4 separate regions of the Homo sapiens genome follow, and all the other regions are linked to region 1. The links are contacts of gene promoters, found by promoter capture Hi-C in human tissues and cell types (Jung and others, 2019). All regions are on one chromosome and are shown on one strand. The core of a region is centred on a gene start or on the middle of the fragment in contact, and the rest is flanking DNA. Distances in the headings are between cores, read along the strand shown. Region 1 holds the start of NCOA6 (nuclear receptor coactivator 6). Region 2 overlaps MMP24-AS1-EDEM2 (MMP24-AS1-EDEM2 readthrough). Region 3 overlaps DYNLRB1 (dynein light chain roadblock-type 1). Region 4 overlaps MMP24-AS1-EDEM2 (MMP24-AS1-EDEM2 readthrough).

Evidence for each region. Contacts are between HindIII fragments. The study calls those that stand out against the background at their distance.
Region 2: a fragment that was not itself captured here is called in contact with the fragment with the promoter of NCOA6 in region 1 in 2 of the 25 tissues and cell types used here (hippocampus and spleen).
Region 3: a fragment that was not itself captured here is called in contact with the fragment with the promoter of NCOA6 in region 1 in 3 of the 25 tissues and cell types used here (IMR-90 fibroblasts, lymphoblastoid cells and spleen).
Region 4: a fragment that was not itself captured here is called in contact with the fragment with the promoter of NCOA6 in region 1 in 2 of the 25 tissues and cell types used here (lymphoblastoid cells and mesenchymal stem cells).

The regions. Positions count from the first base shown.
Region 1 is chr20:34,822,218-34,827,669 of GRCh38, forward strand. NCOA6 (nuclear receptor coactivator 6) reads right to left here and starts at 3,434. Exons shown (of 15, transcript NM_014071.5): 1 at 3,255-3,434. RefSeq lists silencers at 2,901-3,340, 3,351-3,540. The HindIII fragment of the contact is 14,831 bases long and covers 1-5,452 here.
Region 2 is chr20:35,138,741-35,144,192 of GRCh38, forward strand. It overlaps MMP24-AS1-EDEM2 (MMP24-AS1-EDEM2 readthrough), which reads right to left. Exons shown (of 15, transcript NM_001355008.2): 8 at 3,633-3,738. It overlaps EDEM2 (ER degradation enhancing alpha-mannosidase like protein 2), which reads right to left. Exons shown (of 11, transcript NM_018217.3): 4 at 3,633-3,738. Among named protein-coding and RNA genes, the nearest start is that of EDEM2, 5.9 kb to the right of the region's middle. The HindIII fragment of the contact is 7,283 bases long and covers 1-5,452 here.
Region 3 is chr20:34,517,590-34,523,041 of GRCh38, forward strand. All of the region lies in intron 1 of DYNLRB1 (dynein light chain roadblock-type 1), which reads left to right. Among named protein-coding and RNA genes, the nearest start is that of DYNLRB1, 3.9 kb to the left of the region's middle. RefSeq lists an enhancer at 5,349-5,452. The HindIII fragment of the contact is 5,242 bases long and covers 106-5,347 here.
Region 4 is chr20:35,122,961-35,128,412 of GRCh38, forward strand. MMP24-AS1-EDEM2 (MMP24-AS1-EDEM2 readthrough) reads right to left here. Exons shown (of 15, transcript NM_001355008.2): 12 at 3,291-3,415; 13 at 930-1,074. It overlaps EDEM2 (ER degradation enhancing alpha-mannosidase like protein 2), which reads right to left. Exons shown (of 11, transcript NM_018217.3): 8 at 3,291-3,415; 9 at 930-1,074. Among named protein-coding and RNA genes, the nearest start is that of EDEM2, 22 kb to the right of the region's middle. The HindIII fragment of the contact is 6,297 bases long and covers 1-5,452 here.

The DNA.
Region 1 (5,452 bases), core at 2,184-4,683:
CACATACTCCCCTTCTCGAAGATCTTGAATGCCTCTCTCAGCTAAGGATTCAGTCCAAACTCCTTAGCAAGGTCCTTCACAACCAGGTTCCTAACATGGTCTTCCTAGTCTCATCTCTGGCCATGCTTTCACACACATTCTATGCTCCAGCCACATTCAGTTATTAATACATTCCCTGAAAACGTGTCTTTACCTGAAAGGCCCTTCTCTCCATTTCACTGGCAAATTCCTGTATCTTTTAGGACACATCTCAAATGTCACCCCTTCGCAACACCTTCCCTGATTCTTTGAGCAGACACACCCATCTCCGTGTCCTTATAGCGTTTAATAACTCTTCTTTGGCATCGACCATCCTGAACTATGATTGTTCACATGTCTACTTCACTCATGGGGCTGCATACCCAAAGTGAAGTGACTCTGCCTTAAAAACTTCTGAAGCTACAGAGCCCAGTATAATGCTTGATATGCAGTAGATGCCTTGAGGCACAGTAAACGTTTGCTGAATGGAAGACATGCCTGGCAGTAGGAGTAGGGTTTCTTAACCTGGGGTTCATAGACAGGAGTCTATAGATAGGACTTCAGTGGGGCTTGTGAACTTGGACAGGGAGAAAAAAATCTCTTTTACTAACTTTTAACTGAAAATTACCATTCTATTCAAATATGAGTGTAGGTAACATACCATTCTAGTATTAGCAGTTCTGTGACTCTGTAACAACAGAAATCTCAAATATCTTTATATCATACTACAATTGTTGCATATAATCTTGAAGTAGCCTTTATGCGCATCATGTCTTTGAAATTATAATTATCGGATCCATCACTAAATCTGATTTCTTAACGTGCTGATAAACAAGTATATGCATATTAGATTTGTATATTTTGGAAACTGTATTTTAATATAATTGGTGTTCCTTATAATTCAATGTACTTTATTTTATACAATTAAAAAATATTATTCTGAAAGGGGTCCATGGCACAGATAAGGTCAGGTCTTCCTGCATTAGAAAAACCCAGAATAGGCTGGGCGCGGTGGCTCACGCCTGTAATCCCAGCACTTTGGGAGGCTCAGGTGGGCAGATCACTTGAGCTCAGGATTTCAAGACCAGCCTGGGCAACATGTTGAAACCCCAACTCTACAAACAGAAAAAAAAGAAAAGAAAAGAAAAGAAAAACCCAGAACAAATGAATTGTGTTGCTGTATATACATATGGTATTGACAGTTTTATTTTATATATGCCCGCATAATATTTTTGTTCGCTAATTCTCTTTGATTATATGGGGCCCTGGACCTATTTTCCATGACTAATTTGCATATTTCCTTCAGAACTCTCCCATAGCCCATGCGAACTTTGAATTCTTCTCTAACATGATCCAACTTCAATTAATAAAATAGAGACTCTGGGTGTCTACAATTTTTCACTTTTCTTTTTTAGGATTTTGTGTTCCTTTGTGGTAAACACCTAGAAGAGAAGGAGCATCTCTCTTTTTTTTTTTTCTTTAGACAGTGTCTTGCTCTGTCGCCCAGGCAGGAATGTCATGGAATGACCATAGCATGGCTCATTGCAGCCTTGACCTCCCAGGCTCAAGCGATCCTCCCACCTCAGCCTCCTGAGTAGCTGGGACTACAAGTACAAGCCACATCAGGTGGCTAATTTTTTTTATTTCTTTTGTAGAGATGGGGTCTGCCAGCTCCTGGGCTCAAGAAATCCTCCCACCTTGGCCTCCCAAAGTGTTGGGATTACAGGCGTGAGCCACTGTGGCTGGCCGGAGCACCTCTTAAAACTCTAGAAAGTTAGAAGGTCTCAAAGATAACTTCTTTGCACAATTAGAGATGAACCAGGAAATACCAAATAACTGGCTGCCTATACTTTTTTGTATTCCCTTCAGCCTTTGTATTGCCACACTCATTACAGGAAGAAAACAAATTTAATAGTTATCTGGTATATACTGTTATGCTTCATTTCTTGTTGTTTTTGTTTGTTTGCTTTTAGTTTCATCACAAGAATGTTATGCTTCATTTCTTAACACCTTTCTCCCAGCTAGCAAATTCCTTTAAGGCAATGTGTTTAGTGAGGAAGCAGCCGACAATTTCTAGTACCCCTCTGCCACTAACTTGTAAGATCTTGAAAAGTCAACTTTACCTTTCTATGTTTCAGCTAAAATCACTACCTGATTTGAAATCTTTACTTGATCTCTCAGGCCTTTGTAGTTTTTATACATTCACTCTTCTTCACCATTTTACTGGCTTCAATAACGCCTTTCTGATGACCTCTCCAGGTGACTCTGCTCTTAAGCTGTGGGCTGTCCCCTTCCAGGGAAGACACCTTGGGTCACCGCCCCCAAACAGCCAGGTCCCTCCTTTTAAAGACACACACAACTCCCTAAGTTGATAAAGGTTCTCTCCTTCCTTGCCAACCAGTTCCACTCTCTGTGCCTCTTTTGCTGGCCAGCTCCTGCACCCAAACCTCAGTCTCCCTTTGTCCCCCTTTTCTCTCATCAAACACCTCCTTTTTCCTGTTGCTTCCCCCAAGAGGGGGTGGAGGATGCTTGGGACATAAGTCTTCAGAGCCTTGGGAGTTATACAGCTTTGCAATTCAGCCCCAGTACCCCAAGGACTGCCCCAATCTGAACCAGCGTCTGTACCCAAAGGGCCCTCATTCCTCATCAATCACCTCCTTCCCTCCCAGCAAAGAACTGCTCCAGCCCTGACAGCCTGAGCTTGGCCCCCATGCCTCCACCCCAATCCCCAGGTCCTACCTGCATTAGGGCTCTAACACCGCCTAAGGCCTAACCCAGTTCCACGTCCTGCCATCCTCTCAGCCCATAGACCCCAATCCCGGTTCCCTTCGGACCCAGTGTTCCTTCTCCGCGACCCTGACCACGACCCCACGACCGGCTCCCGCCTGTTCCCCAGGCCTGGAGCGCCACCCCGTGCAGACCCCGGCCAGCCCTGCACTCCCTCAGTGCACCGGCCCCCGCGCCCAGCACCCTCCCCACCCAGCCCGGCCGCCGCTCCCTCCAGCGCCCCCGCCCGCAGGCCTGGGGCCCGCTCCCCAACATGGCGACGGGGACACAAGCGCGGCGGGCGGGGCGGCTCCGGGCCGGGCCCGCTCTCAGACCGTGCCACTCGGTCGCCCGGCGCCATTTTTCCGCGCGGGCCCGGGCGGCGCCTCCTCCCCGCGAAGCCAGCCCGACAAGGACCGCGGACGCCCGGCGGGCCCACCCCTTACGGGCCCGCGCCGCCGTCCCCTCACCTGAGCGCGGCCCCGGCCCTCCCGGGCGGGCCTTGGAGCGCCGGCCCGGGCCGTGCGTGCCCGCCGCCCTCGGTGCGTCCGTCCGTCAGTCCTCGCGTGCGCCCGTCTGTCCCGCCGCCCGCGCCCGGCCGCCCGCAGCCCGACCCGGCAGGGCCTCACGGAGCCGGCGGGGAGGGGGATGGGCCGGACCGGGCCGGGGAGGGAGGGGGAGGGAGGGAGAGAGGGAGGGAGCGCGAGAGGGGGCGGGGCGGACTCGAGGGGCGGGGCATTGCCCACGTGACCAGACGTCCCCGGGAGCGCGAGGTGGAGCGCGCGCCAGCTCCCTTCGGTGCTGAGTGCTTAGTGCTGGGATCTCGTGGGTCTCTGTCGGCTTTCCAGGGCTATTCTCTCGCCAGTGAGTCCCACTTCGGAAGCACACATTGCACAGTCTTTTGCGAGCGCTCTGAGTATCCTTGGACATGGCAACTCCAAGCCTCAGTTTACCCATCTGAAATATGGGGAAAATCATAGTGCTTGTGAAGAGCAAATGGAGGTGGGCTTGGAAAGCACTTGTCACCGTGCCTGACACATACTGTCTAATAATAAGCTTAATGGGATATAGATAAAAGCTTTCATTATTATTTGCCTCTAAATCCCTCTCTTCTTTTTCCCATCATTACCTCCCTAGCAAGCTAAAATGCTCAGTAAATAGAATTATTGATCGAACGAGTGTGGCCCCTCCCCTCTTCCCAAACGTAGAAAGGCCTCCTCAGCACTGGACTTCATGTCTGTCATACAGGCCTGGATTCATATCTGGCTTTCACTCTTTTTTAAAAATTTTCTGTTTTTTCCCACACTACACTGATGTATTTTTTAAATTTTCGTAAGTACGTAGTAGGTGAATATATTTATGGGGTACATGAGATTTTGATACAGGCATGCGATGTGTAATCACATCATGGTAAATGGGGTATCTAGCAACTCAAGCATTTATCCTTTGTGTTACAAATAACCCAATTATACTCTAGTTATTTTAAAATGTACAAGTAAATTTTGTGTGTGTGTGGTTTTTTTTTTGTTTTTTGTTTTATTTTTGTTTTTTTGAGACGGAGTCTCACTCCGTCGCCCAGGCTGGAGTGCAGTGGCGCGATCTCAGCTCACTGCAACTTCCGCCTCCCTGGTTCAAGGGATTCGCCTGCCTCAGCCTCCTGAGTAGCTGGTACTACAGGCGCATGCCACCACGCCCAGCTAATTTTTGTATATTTTTTAAGTAGAGATGGGGTTTCACCATATTGGCCGGGCTGGTCAGGAACTCCTGACCTCATGATCCGCCCGCCTCTGCCCCTCAAAGTGCTGGGATTATAGGCGTGAGCCACCGCGCCCGGCCAATTGTTTTTTACTGTAGTCACCTTCTTGTGCTAGCAAATACTAGGTCTTATTCTTTCTAACTATTCTTTTGTACCCGTTAATCATTCCCACTTCCCACCTACCTCCCCATTAATCTTACCAGCCTCTGGTAACCCTCCTTCTATTCTCTATCTCCATGAGTTCAATTGTTTTAATTTTTCGCTCCTGGCCCGGCATGGTGGCTCACGCCTGTAATCCTAGCACTTTGGGAGGCCAAGATGGGCGGATCACCTGAGGTCAGGAGTTCAAGACCAGCCTGGCCAACATGGTGAAACCCTGTCTCTACTAAAATACAAAAGCTAGGTGGGCATGATGGCGGGTGCCTGTAATCCCAGCTACTCAGGAGGCTGAGACGGGAGAATCTCTTGAACCTGGGAGATGGTGGTTGCGGTGAGCCTAGCTCGCGCCACTGCACTCCAGCCTAGGTGGCTGAGTGAGACTCCGTCTCAAAAAAAAATAAAAAATAGTTAATTTTTTGCTCCCACAAATAAGTGAGAACATGTGAAGTTTGTCTTTCTGTGCCCGGCTTCTTTCACATAACATAATGACCTCCAGTTCCATCCATATTGTTGCAAATGACACGATCTCACTCTTTTTTAATGGCGGAATAGTATTCCATTGTGTATATGTACATTTTATTTATCCATTCATCTGTTGATGGACACTTAGGTTGCTTCCAAATCTTGGCTGTTGTGAACAGGGATGCAGTAAACATGAGAGTGCAGATCTCTTCCATACACTGATTTCCTTTCTTTCCGGTGTATACCTAAGAATGGGATTGCTGGATTGTATGGCAGCTCTCTTTGGCTTTC
Region 2 (5,452 bases), core at 2,158-4,657, 320 kb after region 1:
GGCTAATTTTTTTGGATTTTTTTTTTGTAGACACGGTGTTTCACTGTGCTAGCCAGGATGGTCTCGATCTCCTGACCTCATGATCCACCTGCCTCAGCCTCCCAAAGTGCTGGATTTACAGGCATGAGCCACCGCACCCGGCCTACTTAGAACTTTTAAAAAGACACAAAGGTTCTTGGAAATACAGCTAAATAGATATCCTGAGTGGCCCTCTCAATGAAAATAACTGGTGACCCTAAGTTTCAAAATTCCCCTCCTCCCTGCAGAGGGGGAATAGGAGACCAAGGTCAGACCTGCCCCAAGTGGAAGTCTGATAAAAGGTCCCTATGCAGGCCAGGCATGGTGGCTCACATCTGTAATCCCAGCACTTTGGGAGCCGAGGTGGAGATCACGAGGTCAGGAGATGGAGACCATCCCGGCTAAAATGGTGAAACCCTGTCTCTACTAAAAATACAAAATATTAGCTGGGCGTGGTGGCAAGCGCCTGCAGTCCCAGCTACTTGGGAAGCTGAGGCAGAAGAATGGCTTAAACCCAGGAGGTGGAGGTTGCAGTGAGCCAAGATTGCACCACTGCACTTCAGCCTGGGTGACAGAGTGAGACTCCGTCTCAAAAAAAAAAAAAAAAAGTCTGGGCACGGTGGCTCATGCCTGTAATCCCAGCACTTTGGGAGGCTGAGGCAGGTGGACTGCCTGAGCTCAGGAGTTCGTGACCAGCCTGGTAAACACGGTGAAACCCTGTCTCTATTAAAAATACAAAAAATTAGCCGGGCATGGCGTTGTGCGCCTGTAGTCCCAGCTACTCGGGAGGCTGAGGCAGGAGAATTGCTTGAACCCAGGAGGCGGAGGTTGCAGTGAGCTGAGATCATGACACTGCACTCCAGCCTGGGCGACAGAGCGAGACTCCATCTCAGAAAAAAAAAAAAAAAGAAAAGAAAGAAAGAAAAGAAATCTACATGTATGTACCTTATGGTAAAACTGCAGAACACCAAAGGGAAAAATGATCTCGAATGCAGCCAGAATCCATGTAATAATAATTATTAATGCTGGGTGATGGGCACGTCTGGTTCATTATGCTATTTTCTCTACTTTTATGTTTGAAGTTTTCCATAACAAAAAGTTTTTAAAAGGAGAAGACAGCCAAAGTGAAAACCAAAACAAGATTCTCTACAAATAAATAATAATTACATTGACAGATTACTTCTTAACAATAATGAAACCAGAAGATAATGGAAAAAGTTTTTAACACAATAAGAGAAAGTAACCATCAACCTAGAACCATACACCCAGCAAAAATATCACTCAAAGGCCAACCAAAGGCAGTTGAATAAAGACATTTTCATATAAACAAAAGCTGGGAATGTTTATGAAGCACACACCTGCATTAAAGGAAATTCTAAAGGAAATACTTTAGAGAAAAGGTCTGAGACACGAAAAGAAAAAATAGTCAAAAAAGTGGTAAATAGGCCAGGCACAGTGGCTAAACCTGTAATTCCAGCACTTTGGGAAGCCAAAGCAGGTGGATCACTCAAGATCATGAGTTTGAGACCAGCCTGGCCAATGTGGTGAAACACCATCTCTACTAAAAATACAAAAATTAGCCTGGTGTGGTGGTGCACAACTGTAATCCCAGCTACTCTGGAGGCTGAGGCAGGAGAATCGTTTAAACCCAGGAGGTGGAGGTGAGCCAAGATCGCGCCACTGCACTCCAGCCTGGGTGGCAGAGTGAGACTCTATTTCAAACCAACAACAACAAAAAAAGTGGTAAATTTATGTGTAAATGCAAAACTTCAACAATATAGAACAAAAATTATAATGTATGGAAGGTTTAAAACAAATAACTAAAATATATAACTGTAGCATATAGGTCAGGATGTTCTCTAAGTCAGGTTTTGCATTATTCAGGAGGAGAACAAAGATTTTCATTAAATTTAGACTTTGATAAGTTATGTTTGTTAAATTTGCTTGGAAAACTATGTAAAAAGCTAGATATTGTGCATAATTTCCATATTAGTAAGAGGAAAATGGAATGGGGGGAAAACAATCTAAAGAAGGCATGAAAAAGGACAGAATAAAGGAACATAAAGAAGATGGCACAGGGCCAGGTGCAGTGGCTCACACCTATAATCCCAGCACTTTGGGAGGCTGATGGGGGGCGGATCACCTGAGGTCAGGAGTTCGAGACTAGCCTGGCCAACATGGTGAAACCCCATCTCTACTAAAAATACAAAAATTAGCAGGGCACGGTGGCAGGCACCTGCAATCCCAGCTACATAGGAGGCTGAGACAGGAGAATCGCCTGAACCCGGGAGGCAGAGGTTGCAGTAAGCCAAGATTGCACCACTACACTCCCGCCTGGGCGACAGAGTGAGACTCCGCCTCAAAAAAAAAAAAAAAAAAAAAAAAAAGAAGACGGCACAGAGAGCACAATACTGTAGAAATGAGTGCAAATATATCAGTAATTACAGTAAATGTAAATGGATTAAATGTGCCAGTTAAAGATTGTCAGAATGGATAAACAAAATATAATACACTATTTGCAAAAGATGTATCTAATCATAAAACTACAGAAAGATGGAAAGGATAGAAAAAGATACATGGGAAAATGTCAACCAAAAGAAAGCTGGTATCACTTATATTCCTATCAGAAATAAAGGTATAAGAATGACCTTCATTTACAGATGACAAACTGGGCTCAGAAGCTGGGAGACATAGCAGCAAGTACAGCCTCAAACTCAGGCCGGATTCCTAAACCAGGATTTTAGACCATGTTGTCCCTCTGCTCTCTTCTCTTTTTTAATCTTTTATGGATCATATGTCTGGAATATAAGTTTCATTGCAGAAAACATACAAAATAATGGGGAAAAATAGAACTCTGCCATCCAGAGGTGACAGCTGTTAAGTGGTCTAGAGGTTCGATGCAAATAAGGGCTGTGCTGGCTTCACAAGAATCACTGGAAGTCTGCTAAAAATACTGATTCTAGGACCCAACACAGAGATTCCAATTCATTAGGTTTAGGGTGGAGTCTCAACATCTGAATTTTTTAACCACTTGGGAGTGGTTCCTATGGGCTGCCAAGTTTGGAAGATTAATGCTGTAGATTTGCACTGTCCAATACAATAATCACTAACTACATGTGACTACTTAAATTTAATATCATTAAAATTAAATGAAATTAAAAATTCAATTCCATAGTTGTAGTAGATACATTTCAAATGCTCAATAGCTCATGTGGTTCGTGGCTACCATACTGGACAAAACACAGCTATAAGACATTTCCATCACTGCAGAAAATTGGATTGGACAGACAATAAGTTCCAAGAAGGCAAGGATCATATCTTTCTTGTTCATAGCTGTATGCCTAGTATCAAATACATATTAAAGAGGTGAGTAATCTGGTGTATTTCTTTCCAGTCTCTTAGTCTCCTGCTCACTTTCATATCTGAAACTGATGGGGAAATCCTGAGACTTCCCCACCTCACCCTCCAGGAGGGAAGAAGAGCTCTGTCGGTCAGAGGTTTTGGCCAAGGGTCCTGGCATGGTCAGTCCTTAAAATCCTATTTACCACTTCTTGGTTTACAGAGGCAACTTCACACTCTTTTTTCTTTTAAAGGTCCTAGAGAGCAGCCCTTACCTCGAATGTTTGTTTCAAACACAGAGGCGTTCACATCAATATCAAAGTCCACGCTGTCCTGGAGCACTTCAACCACTCTTTGGAATTCTGAGACATTCCCCAAAATCTGGAAATAAAAAAGAGACCTGACAATGAGGCTCTTACATGCATGGAGGCAGATTCAGAGTCTGGGATCCTATGTTGATGTGGCCCTCACTAATTCCACTTAAGACCTCCAGTTTCTGTCCTAGGATTGGTGACAGCAGAAGAAAACACTGAGAGCTAGAAATCATCTAGAGACTTCATACCAAGAGACTGGTTAAGTAAATTCCTAGGTCCCAATTAAGAGTCACGATGTTGTCATTTAAATGGACACAATATAAAGAACGCAAACTACGCATAGAAGTCTTAGGTTTTTTGTTTCGTTTTTTTGAGACAGAGTCTCGCTCTGCTGCCCAGGGTAGAGTGCAGTGGCGTGATCTTGGCTCACTTCAAACTCCGCCTCCTGGGTTCAAGCGATTCTCCTGCCTCAGCCCCGAGTAGCTGGGATTATGCACCACCATGCCCGGCTAATTTTTGTATTTTTAGTAGAGACGGGGTTTCACCATGTTGATCAGGCTGGTCTCAAACTCCTGACCTCATGATCCACCCGCCTTGGCCTCCCAAAGTGCTGGGATTACAGGTGTGAGCGACCGCACCTGGCCAAAAGTCTTAGTTTGACATTTGCAGTAGATACCAGTTGTCACCTTCAACCTTGTGGAAAACAGAACAGGTTGGTTGGCCCAAAACAAATTCATTCCTACCCTCTTTACCTCATGGCCTCCCACCAGAGGTTGGAAATCCAGAAGCTTTCTCGGCCTCCTTTGCTGCTGCAGTTGATTGTGTTACCCAGTCAATTCTGACCCTTGAGAGGTCTACTGGGGGCACTTCTGGGAAGGCTTCTGTTTTCTTAATACCAAGGGACAAACACAGCTAACATGGCTTTTAGTCTCTCTCTTTCTGCCTTGAACTCAGACTCGATTTCTGAAGTGATGGCAGCTATGTGAGACCATGACGTACTAAGCATTAGAATAAAAGCCAAAACACTAACGATACTAGAATGCAAAGCTACAAAGAGGCTGGTCTCTAATGACACAGTTGCGTAGCTGACCCAATGCTAGAAATTACCTCTAGACTTTCTTTTACTTGAGAAAATAAACCCTCTTTATTTAAACCGTTAGCCAAATGCAATCTCAATCTCTCTTCTTTTGATAGTAACATCTCAATTTACCCTCGAGGAATCACTCTTCCCCGGCAGTCACTCCTGTGGTTTGGGAGAGGCTGATCCCATCCCTCTAGCTGTGGAGTGGGTACTTGACCTGAACCAGTCCAAGTCTTTTTTTTGAGACAGGGTCTTGCTCTGTTACACAGGTTGGAGTGCAGTGGTGTGATCATAGCTCATCACAGCCTCGAACTCTGGGACTTGAGCAATGTTGGCCTCCCAAAGTGCTGGGATTACAGGCATGAGCCACCACACCTGGCCCTTTTTACCTTTCTAAGCATCAGGTTTCTTTTATATCTTTTTTTTGTTTGTGTGAGACAGGGTTTTACTCTGTTACCCAGACCAGAGTGCAGTGGTGCGATCTCGGCTCACTGCAACCTCTGCCTCCCTGACTCAAACAATCCTCCTACCTCACCCTCCTCCCTAACAAATGGAGCCACAGACATGTGCCATCATGCCTAATTTTTTATATTTTTGGTAGAGACGGGGTTTCACCATATTGCCCAGGCTGGTCTTGAACTCCTGTGCTCAAGCAGTCCTGCCGCCTTGGCCTCCCAAAGTGCTGGGATTACAGGCGTGA
Region 3 (5,452 bases), core at 1,477-3,976, 310 kb before region 1:
ATTATAGAATATCCATCACCTTAAACATTCATTATTTCTTTTTTTTTTTTTTTTTTTGAGATGGAGTGTGTCTCTGTCGCTCAGGCTGGAGTGCAGTGGCACCATCTTAGTTCACTGCCACCTCCGCCTCCCAGGTTCAAGTGATTCTCCCGCCTCAGCCTCCCGAGTAGCTGGGACTACAGGCGCCCACCACCACGCCCAGCTAATTTTTTGTATTTTTAGTAGAGACGGGGTTTCACCGTGTTAGTCCGCCTCAACACGGTGGTCTCGATCTCCTGACCTCGTGATCTGCTCGCCTCAGCCTCCCAAAGTGCTGGGATTACAGGCGTGAGCCACCACGCCTGGCCCACATTTTCTTTATCCATTTACCTATTGATGGACGCTAATTCCATAATTTAGCTATTATGAATAGTGCTGCAATATGAACATGAGGATGTAGGGATGCCTTTGATGTACTAATTTCCGTTCCTTTGAATAAATACCCAGTAGTGGTATTGCTGATTTATGGTAGGTTTTTTTTTTCGTTTTTGTTGTTGTTTTTGTTTTGTTTTGTTTTTTCGATGCCTTTGTCGAAAATCAGTTGGCCGTAAATAAGTGGATTTATTTCTGGGTCCTCTATTCTATTCCATTGGTCTGTGTTTTATACCAATACCATGCTCTTTTGGTTACTATACCTTTCTGGTATATTTTGAAATCAGGTAGTGTGATACCTCAAGCTTTGTTCTTTTCGTCCAGGCTTCTTTTGGCTTTTCTGAGTCTTTTGTGGTTCCATACGAATTTTAGGATTGTTTACAGGTAATACTTGCACACAGTAAAAAAATAAATGATGTAAAAGGATCTAAGTGAAAAATAAAATTCCCACTCTCCTAACCCCCAGTCTCAGTCTCTCCTCCTTTAGAAACAACCATTGTTAGTTTCTTTTTTTTTTTTTCTTGCAAACTTGACCCTCCTGGGCTCAAGTGATCCTCCTGCCTTAATTCCCCAAGTATCTGGGACTACTGGTGCACGCCACCACACCCTGCTAATTTTTTTGTATTTTTTTTTTGTAGAGTTGGGGTTTTGCCATGTTGCCCAGGCTGGTCTTGAACTCCTGGGCTCAAGTGATTCACCCACGTTGGCCTCCCAAAGTGTTAGGATTACAGGCGTGAGCCACCACACCCAGCTGTTAGTTTCTTATGCATCTATACAAGCACTTATATGGCCCCCCTTTTTCTTACTTAAACTGTAGCTTTCTAGAACCTGTATTATGCTACTCCGTGGTTATACTCATAAAAGCAATGCAAATTTAGATGCCTAGTTTAACTTTTTTTTTTTTTCTTTTGAAACAGAGTCTTGCCCTTTCGCCCAGGCTGGAGTGCAGTGGTGTGATCTGAGCTCACTGCAACCTCTGCCTCCCGGGTTCGAGTGATTCTCCTGCCTCAGCCTCCGGAGTAGCTGGGACTGCAGGAGCATGCCACCATGCCTGGCTAATTTTTCTATTTTTGGTAGAGACAGGGTTTTTTTTCTATTTTTAGTAGAGACAGGGTTTCACCATGTTGACCAGGCTGGTCTCAAACTCATGACCTCAGGTGATCCGCCCACCTCCGCCTCCAAAAATGCTGGGATTATGGGCGTAAACCACCATGTATGTTAACAATTTGAAGCAGTACCAGAGGATATAATATAGAAAGTTTATGTGGTCCCCATCTTACTACCCCGTGGCAACTTCTGTTGGCAGTTGGGTGTGTTTCCTTCCAGATGTGTTTGGTGCATAAGCACATTTATGTATAAGCTGTTTATTAGATGAAACTGGAATATATATATATTTGTATATGTTAACTTTACTTTAAGGCTGAAGTGGAGAGATCGCCTGAGCCCAGGAGGTCAAGGCTACAGTGAGCCGTGACTGCACCACTGCACTCCACCCTGGGTGAGAAAAAAATAAGAGAAAACAGAAGTTGACTTTAAGATATATATGTATATATCTTATTCTGCAACTTGTTCTGTTCACTTAAAAATATCACACATTTTTCTGTGTTATTATATGCAGGTCCACTTCATTCTTTTTAAGGTCTGTATCGTATCCTAGTCCCATATGTACATTTAGGTGGTGTATAGTTTTTTTATTCCAGACACTGCTGCAGTAACTGTTCTTGTCTTTTTTGCACTCATGCTAGTGGTTATGTAGGATAGATTTCTACAAGTGGCACTTTTGGCTTGCATATTTTACATTTTAGGTGGAAACTGACCTTTAGAATAATGATATAAAAATCATCTATAATTGGCCGGACACAATGGCTGACGCATATAATCCCAGCACTTTGGGAGGCCAAGGTGGGCAGATCACTTGAGGTCAGGAGTTGGAGACCAGCCTGGGCAACATGGTGAAACTCTGTCTCTACTAAAAATACGAAAAGTAGCCGGAAGCCGTGCATCTGTAATTCCAGCTGCTCAGGAGGCTGAGGCACTAGAATCGCTTGAACCCGGGAGGCGGGGGTTGCAGTGATCCGAGACCAGGCCAGTGCACTCCAGCCTGGGCAACAGAGCAAGACTCTGTCTCAAAATAAATAAATAAAATTAAAAAATAATCACATATAATTCTCCTCGTCCAGTTTCACTGTGCCACATAACTATTTTCATCTTTGTATGTTCTCCTTCCTCTTTTGTTCACATATGCATATTTTCCAAGATAATGCATGCTGAGTTTTGGGGGGATTTTTTTCTTTTTTTGTTGTTTTAATATCCAAAAACATTTAACCTTGTTGTCATATCATCTTTGTGATTAACTACTTAGTGACTACATAATACTCGGTGAAATAGTTGTACCATAATTGGCCAAATATCTTACCTGTGTACATTTGGGTTGCTCCCATTTCTTTTTGGTTTGTTTGTTTTAGAGATGGAGTCTCACTCTGTTGCCCAGACTGGAGTTCAGTGGCTCAATCTCAGCTCACTGCAACCTCTGCCTCCCAGGTTCAAGTGATTTTCCTGCCTCAGCCTCCTGAGTAGCTGGGATTAACAGGTGTGCATCATGACGCCCAGCTAATTTTTGTATTTTTTAGTAGAAACAGGGTTTCGCCATGTTGGCCAGGCTGGTCTCAAACTCCTGACCTCAGGTGATCCGCCTGCCTCAGCCTCCCAAAGTGCCAGGATTACAGGCATGAGCCACCATACCTGGCTGCTTCCATTTCTTAATTAGTAGAAATAGTGCTGTGATGATGCTTCTGTGAATATCTTGTTTTGTTTCATTTTAACTTACTTATTAGATTATTTCCTCAGGATAAAATTCTTAGGAAAATAATTTCTGAGGTGGAAGGACCAGTGCTTTTATGGTTCTTGCAATATATTGTCCTGTAGCTTTGTCAAGATTGTATTGCCCTTGCACCTGCCAGTTTTGTAATAACAATGCCAGCATTTAAAAATAAACCTCAGCATTGCTATAATTTTTCATTTCTGTCTTTTTTTTTTGAAATGGAATCTCACTCTGTTGCCCAGGCTGGAGGGCACGATCTCAGCTCACTACAAACTCTGCCTCCCAGGTTCAAGCAATTTTCCTGCCTCAGCCTCCTGAGTAGCTGGGATTACAGGCCCATGCCACCATGACGGCTAATTTTTGTATTTTTAGTAGAGACAGGGTTTCCCCATGTTGGCCAGGCTGGTCTCAAACTCCTGACCTCAAGTGATTCACCCACCTCAGTTTCCCAAAGTGCTGAGATTACAGGTGTGAGCACCACGCCCAGCTGAATTTTTCATTTGTTTGTGAGGGATGATGACCATGGTTTGATGTGATTGTAATTTCTCGTAGGCATATTTTCTACTAGTATTCTTTTGTGCACTACCTACTAGAGACTTGCTATTGTTCTTAGTCATTTTGTGTTTTTTTTTTATTTATTTTGTCTGTTATATTTGATGCAAATACTTTTCTATCCTGTTAGATTAGTTATTCTTATACAGAAGTTTTATGTTTAGTGGTCAAATTGGTCATAGTTCTTTGTCAGTCATTTGCTTCCAGTGGTCATCCCTCCTATGCTGAGCCAATGGATCCTCCTGGATCTTTATTGCTGCTTGTTTTTCCATGTGTCAGGAATGTGCATCTGGGAACTAGAGAATTGGGGAACCTTGTCTCCATCATCCCATTGCCCAGAGTGCATTTCTTTCTCATCATTTGATTCTTGGCTTAAAGATGACATACTTATGGCCGAGAATGGTGGCTCACGCCTGTAGTCCCAACAGTTTGGGAGGCCAAGGCAGTAGATCACTTGAGCCCAGGAGTTCAAGACCAGCCTGGGCAACATGTCGAAACCCCATCTCTACAAAAAATTAGCTGGGTTTGGCAGTACACATCAGTAGTCCCACGTGTTCGGGAGGCTGAAGTGGGAGGATCACTTGAGCCTGGGAGGTCAAGGCTGCAGTGAGCCATGATCGAACCATGGCACGCCTGGGTGACAGAGTGAGACCCTATCTCAAAAAAAAAAAAGATTACATCTCCTCAGGTGTTCCTGACCACATTAGCCAGAGTAGCATCCCTTGCCCCACAGCCTAGTCCCTGTATCCTGCAAGAATCTTGCTCACTTGTTTAAGTCTCTTTCACCAGAATGTGAGCTCCCTGAGGGCAGGGACCTCCTCAGTTGTGGTCACCAGTATATTCAGCTCTTCTGTTGACCTGCAGTGTGTTCTTGGGCAAAACCCTTCTCCTTTCCAAACCTGTTTCCCCATCACTAACATGGAGATCATACTAACCCATGAATGGGAGTTTCAGAAGAGAGCATGTGTCTGAAAGCAATATATGACCCATAGTAGGCGCTGAGTAGGGAAATTATACCTATGTGTCCTCCCATTCCTGATAGATGTGTGAGATGTGTGTTTACTTTTCTTTTTTCTTTCTTTCTTTTTTCTTTTTCTTTTTTTTTTTTTTTTTTTTTTGATGAGTCTTACACTCTGTTTTCCAGGCTGGAGTGCAATGGCGCGATCATGGCTCACTGCAGCCTCGGCCTCCTGGGCTCAGGCAATCCTTTCACCTCAGCCTCCCAACTAGCTGGGACTGCAGGCACACGACACCACGCATGGTTAATTTTTTTTATCTTTTGTAGAGACGAAGCTTCACCATGTTGCCCAGGCTGGTCTCAAACTCCTGGGCTCAAGCAGTCTACCTGCTTTGGTCCCCCAAAGTGCTGGGATTACAGGCATGAGCCACTGTGCCCAGCCCATGTTTACTTTTAAACAGCCAGATCTTAGTATCTGGTTCTCGTTGAGTTTCAGATCACCTAAACCTTAGCTCTTTTTCACACTGTGGACTGTGAGGCCATGTCCCCCTCCTGTACTTAAAAAGGTTGATTTCGTGAAACATAGTTGCAGAAATGCTTTTTATTTGTTCCTTCAGTATTTATTGAGCCTATCCTATGCGAGGTACTGGGGCTATAAAGTCTGGTCTGGTTTCCTGATTCCAGGGTGCCTTGCGTCTGGAGGAGGAGAT
Region 4 (5,452 bases), core at 1,154-3,653, 300 kb after region 1:
TGTGCTGACTAAGCTTCCTTCCTTTGTCCCTCTTTTTCTTTCCCTCCTCACAATTTTCAGCTTCCCTGAAGTGAATCAAATGACATTAGGGCTAGAAAGGAACCTATGAGAGTGTCTCAAATATAGTCCTTTGCTTGATTCTGAGCTGCAAATGGGGAGGTGGAAGAGACTAGGTAATTCCTAAGGTCCGCCCCAAAGTTCTAACATTCCATACACGTAAGCATAATTTATCTGACCCATGGACTTAGGAAGCTTGCCTACACTTCTGAAATCCTGATGGCAGGAGCTCAAAAGGAGTCAACCTTGGCCTTTTCCTTCTCACTCATTTCCTGATTTGAAAGAGCATATGGGGCCAGTCGCAGTGGCTCACATCTGTAATCCCAGCACTTTGGGAGGCCAAGGTGGGCGGATCACCTGAGGCTGGGAGTTCAAGACCAGCCTGACCAACATGGAGAAACTCCATCTCTACTAAAAATACAAAATTAGCTGGGCATGGTGGCTCATGCCTGTAATCCCAGCTACTCGGGAGGCTGAGGCAGGAGAATCGCTTGAACCCAGGAGGCGGAGGTTGCGGTGAGCCGAGATCACACCATTGCACTTCAGTCTGGGCAACAATAGCGAAACTCCATCTCAAAAAAATAAAAATAAAAAAGAGCATGCAATTTAGTTAGGAGCCCTGGGTTCCAGGCCTAGCTCCTGCACTTAAGAGCCAGAGGCGAGCCATTTCATCCCACTAGGCCTCAGTTTCCATATCTGAAAACATGGGGATAATTAACTCCTAGTAAGAAAACCACCCAGAGCCACTGAAAGGAACAGATGGAAAGAAATGAACTTGTGGGCAGTTGTGGAGGATGGAGCCTTGTAGAGGGGATTTGGGGTTTCAGCAACCAGAGCCTGTGGGCAGATGACAAGCCAGAAATGCTGCTCACCTGGCCGAAGTGGGTAGCCCTCTCGCTTCTCCACTGTGTATCCCTGAGGAATGTTGTAGAATTCCGGGAGCCCCCCAAACTGCTTCCATACAGTGTAGTAGTTGAGGAAGGTCCTCATGGCATTGTCAATGTCTCCAATGAGGCTCTGTGGGAGAAAGTGGCTGTCAGGCAGGTAGACACCAGGCATAAAACCCCACAGACAACCTTAAGAAAAGACAAAGTAAAATCTGTGGGGCCAAAAAGGCCTTGAATCAATCCCTGAGTCTGCCAGTTACTCAGTGTGGTGCTGAGCCAGGCACTGGACTTCTCTGAGCCCCATCTATAAAACGTAAAATACACCACCTATCTCATGCATTGTTGGAAGGAACAAAGATTGTATATTAAGTCCCTAAATCTTCAGAGTCAATGTCAGCTAACAGTTTTGGAATTCGGCCAGCCAGTTAAAAATTCTAAGAATAGAGAAAAGTTTGTGCTAAGGCTCACTCCCACACCACACCCCCAAAAGATAACCATTTTTGTTTTTGTTTTTGAGACAGGGTCTCGCTCTGTCACCTAGGCTGGAGTGCAGTGGCACAATCACGGTTCATTACAGCCTTGACCTCCTGGGCTCAAGAGATCCTCTCACCTCAGCCTCCCAGTGCTAATTTTTTTATTTTCTGTAGAGATGGGGGTCTCACTTTGTTGCCCAGGCTGGTCTTAATCTCCTGGGCTCAAGTGATCCTCCTACCTCAGCCTTCCAAAGTGCTGGGATTACAACCATCACCCATCTTGCCTGGCCTCAGATAAACATTACTGGTTTCTTGTATAACCTTTCAGAGTTTCTTTATGCATGAGTATATGTTATTTTCCCCACACTAAAAAATAGCCTTTGGTTCTTTATTAATAGGGATATTAATTATCTCCATATTTTTAGATATGGAAATTTGGCTTTCAGATATTTTTATTTGAATTGGTTCCAACAACTAATGTGGCAATAAATAATTCTGTATATATGTCACATCAAATAGATGTAAAATGTTATGTGTAAGATACATTTTCAGAATTAGGATCACTGGGTCAAAGGATATATGCATTTATAATTTTACCACTATTGCTAAGTAGCCATTACTATTAATGTAATCTCACAGGGAAGCAGCTGACCCTGACATCTTCATTGGATGTCTCATGGACAGAACAAACTTGGCACTTCCTAAACAAAATTCTTGGTTCCCTTACTTTCCCACGAAATTGCCTCCCTACTTTGGCCTTTTTCCCTTCTTGGTAAATGACACAATGTCTACCTGGTTATTCTGGATAGAAACCCGGTGGCCACTTTTTTTTTTTTTTTTTGAGACAGGGTCTCACTCTGTCACCCAGGCTGCAATGGCATGATCATGGCTCACTGCAGCCTTGATCTTCTGGGTTCAAGCAATCCTTCCACTGCAGTCTCCTGAGTAGCTGGGACTACAGGCATGTGCCACCACCCTAGGCTAATTTTTTATTTTTATTTTTATTTATTTATTTTTATTTTTTTGAGACGGAGTCTTGCTCTGTCATCCAGGCTGGAGTGCAGTGGCGCAATCTCAGCTCACTGCAAGCTCCGCCTCCCAGGTTCATGCCATTCTCCTGCCTCAGCCTCCCGAGTAGCTGGGACTACAGGCGCCCACCACCACGCCCAGCTAATTTTTTGTATTTTTAGTAGAGATGGGGTTTCACCGTGTTAGCCAGGATGGTCTCAATCTCCTAACCTTGTGATCCGCCTGCCTCGGCCTGCCAAAGCGCTGGGATTATAGGCCTGAGCCACCGCGCCCGACCTAATTTTTTATTTTTTGTAGAGATGAGGTCTCACTATGTTGCCCAGGTGGGACTACTTTTTCTTAAAACTTTTAAAAACGTAGATTATAAAAACATTTTGGTACATGCACTATTTTGGAACACCAAAGTGGGGTAGATTAGATAAGCTCTAAGATCCTTCCAGCTGCAACTCTACCAGACCATGTAATGGAAAAACAACGAGATGGCACAGCGGCACAAGCTGCTTCCTGCCCTTCCTGAGGCCCACTGTCAAGAATGAGATTGGACAGAAACGCCCAGTGGAGAAACACCTGTTGCCAATGGCCATTCCTGCCCAGACTGGAAATGCACTGTCGACTTTAAGTACTGTAACACTCCATGGCAAACTGGAAGCTCAGTTCCTGACACTCAATTTGGCAGAACTCTAAATCTATCTAATTCACTCTAGGTCTCTCTTCCATCCTCAACCTGTCCCTCCAAAAAAAGTACTCAAGCAATTAACAAAGTACATTATTTGACTTATACATCAGAATGAGCTTGCTTTGCCAGACTCATAGAAAGATGATCACATTCTTTGATCATTCCTACCTGAAGACCAGGCCAGTAGGCCTCCAAGGACTGGAAGACTGGCATGGACACAGTCCCCTTGTACATCTGAACCCACAGGTACCAGTCATCGAAGCGGGTGTAGTTCCGGATGGCTTTGTTATACTCTGCAGTGGGGGAGATGGGATAATGGACATATGAGTGATTAGGGAGAAAAAAGGCAGGCCTGGACAGCGGAAGCGAGAACTTACACTTTGGAAAGAGCACCAGGATGCAATGAGGCAAGGAGGCTAGACAAGAGCATGGATTCTGGAGTCAAACTTCCAGCTCAAATTCCAGCTCCAGCTCTACCACTTGCTAACCGTGACCTGGGGTGGGTTTTTCCCTTTTAAGCCTCAGCCTTATGATCTATAAAATGGGGAGGCCAGGCGTGGTGGCTCACATCTATAATCCCAGCACTTTGGGAGGCCGAGGTGGGCGGATCACCTGAGATTGGGAGTTCGAGACCAGCCTGACCAACACGGAGAAACCCTGTCTCTACTAAAAATACAAAATTAGCCAGGTGTGGTGGTGCATGCCTGTAATCTCAGCTACTTGGGAGGCTGAGGAAGGAGAATTGCTTGAACCCAGGAGGCGGAGGTTGCTGTGAGCTGAGATCGCACCATTGCACTCCAGCCTGGGCAACAAGAGTGAAACTCCATCTCAAAAAGAAAAAAGCAGAAAATAATTGATGTGGTTTGGCTGTGTCCCCACCTAAATCTCACCTTGAATTGTAGCTCCCATATTTCTCACGTGTTGTGGAAGGGACCTGGTGGGAGATAATTGAATCATGGGGGCCGTTTCCCCCATACTGTTCTCATGGTAGTGAATAAGTCTCACAAGATCTGATGGTTTTATAAGAGGTTTCCCCTTTCACTTGGCTCTCATTCTCTCTTGCCTGCACCATGTAAGATGTGCCTTTCGCCTTCCGCCACGATTGTGAGGCCTCCCCAGCCATGTGGAACTGTGAGTCCATTAAACCTCTTTTTCTTTATAAATTACCCAGTCTTGAGTACGTCTTTATCAGCAGTGAAAATGGTCTAATACAGTAATGTTAGGTATCTGTGGAATTTTTCAGTCATTTATTTATACCACAAACATTCGCTAAGCACCTACTAGGTTCCAGGCTCCTATGAGTTTGTAAACAAGACAAAATCCAGCCTTCAGAGAACTTACATTCTAGTAGGAACTTGAATTTATCCCTCATATCTCTCCCCTAGATTGTAAATCCATGAGGCCTGGGACTTTGTTTTGTCTACTGCAGAATCCCCCACACTAGTACAATGAGCAATAAACATTTTCTGAATGAACAAAGTACCAAATATACATGCAAATAAATAAGATAATCTCAAACAGGAGTTGTAAGGATTATATGAAACAGTCCATGTTCAGAGCTTGGCACAATGCTTGGTACATCCGTGGTATTCAATAAATATTTGTTGAATAAATGAGTAAAGTAGTCCCCCCTTATGTGAGGAGAATACGTTCCAAGACCCTCAGTGGATGTCTGAAACCATGGATAGTACTAAATAAACTCTATATACAGTCATGTGCCATATAACAACATGTTGGTCAACACTGAACTGTAGAGATGGTGGTCCTATAAAATTATAATAGAGGTGAAAAATCACCACAGCCTAAAGATATCACAGCTGTTGTAATTTTATAATGCAATGCATTACTTACTTGTTTGTGGTGATACTGGTGTAAACACACCTACTGTGCTGCCAGTCATAAAAGTATAACACATACAATTATGTATAGTACGTGATATTTAATAAACAACCATTTACGCGTTTATGTATTTACTATATTATTATCATTAGATAACTCCTTCCTCTTATATAAAAAAAGTCGGCTGGGCGTGGTGGCTCACACCTGTAATCCCAGCACTTTGGGAGGGCGAGGTGGGCGGATCACGAGGTCAGTGTTAGACCATCCTGCCTAACACGGTGAAACCCCATCTCTACTAAAAATACAAAAAAATTAGCTGGGTGTGGTGGCGGGCGCCTGTAATCCCAGCTACTCGGGAGGCTGAGGCAGGAGAATGGCGTGAATCCGGGAGGTGGAGTTTGTAGTGAGCGGAGATCACACCACTGCACTCCAGCCTGGGCAACAGAGCAAGACTCTGTCTCCAAAAAAAATAAAAACAAAAACAAAAATTA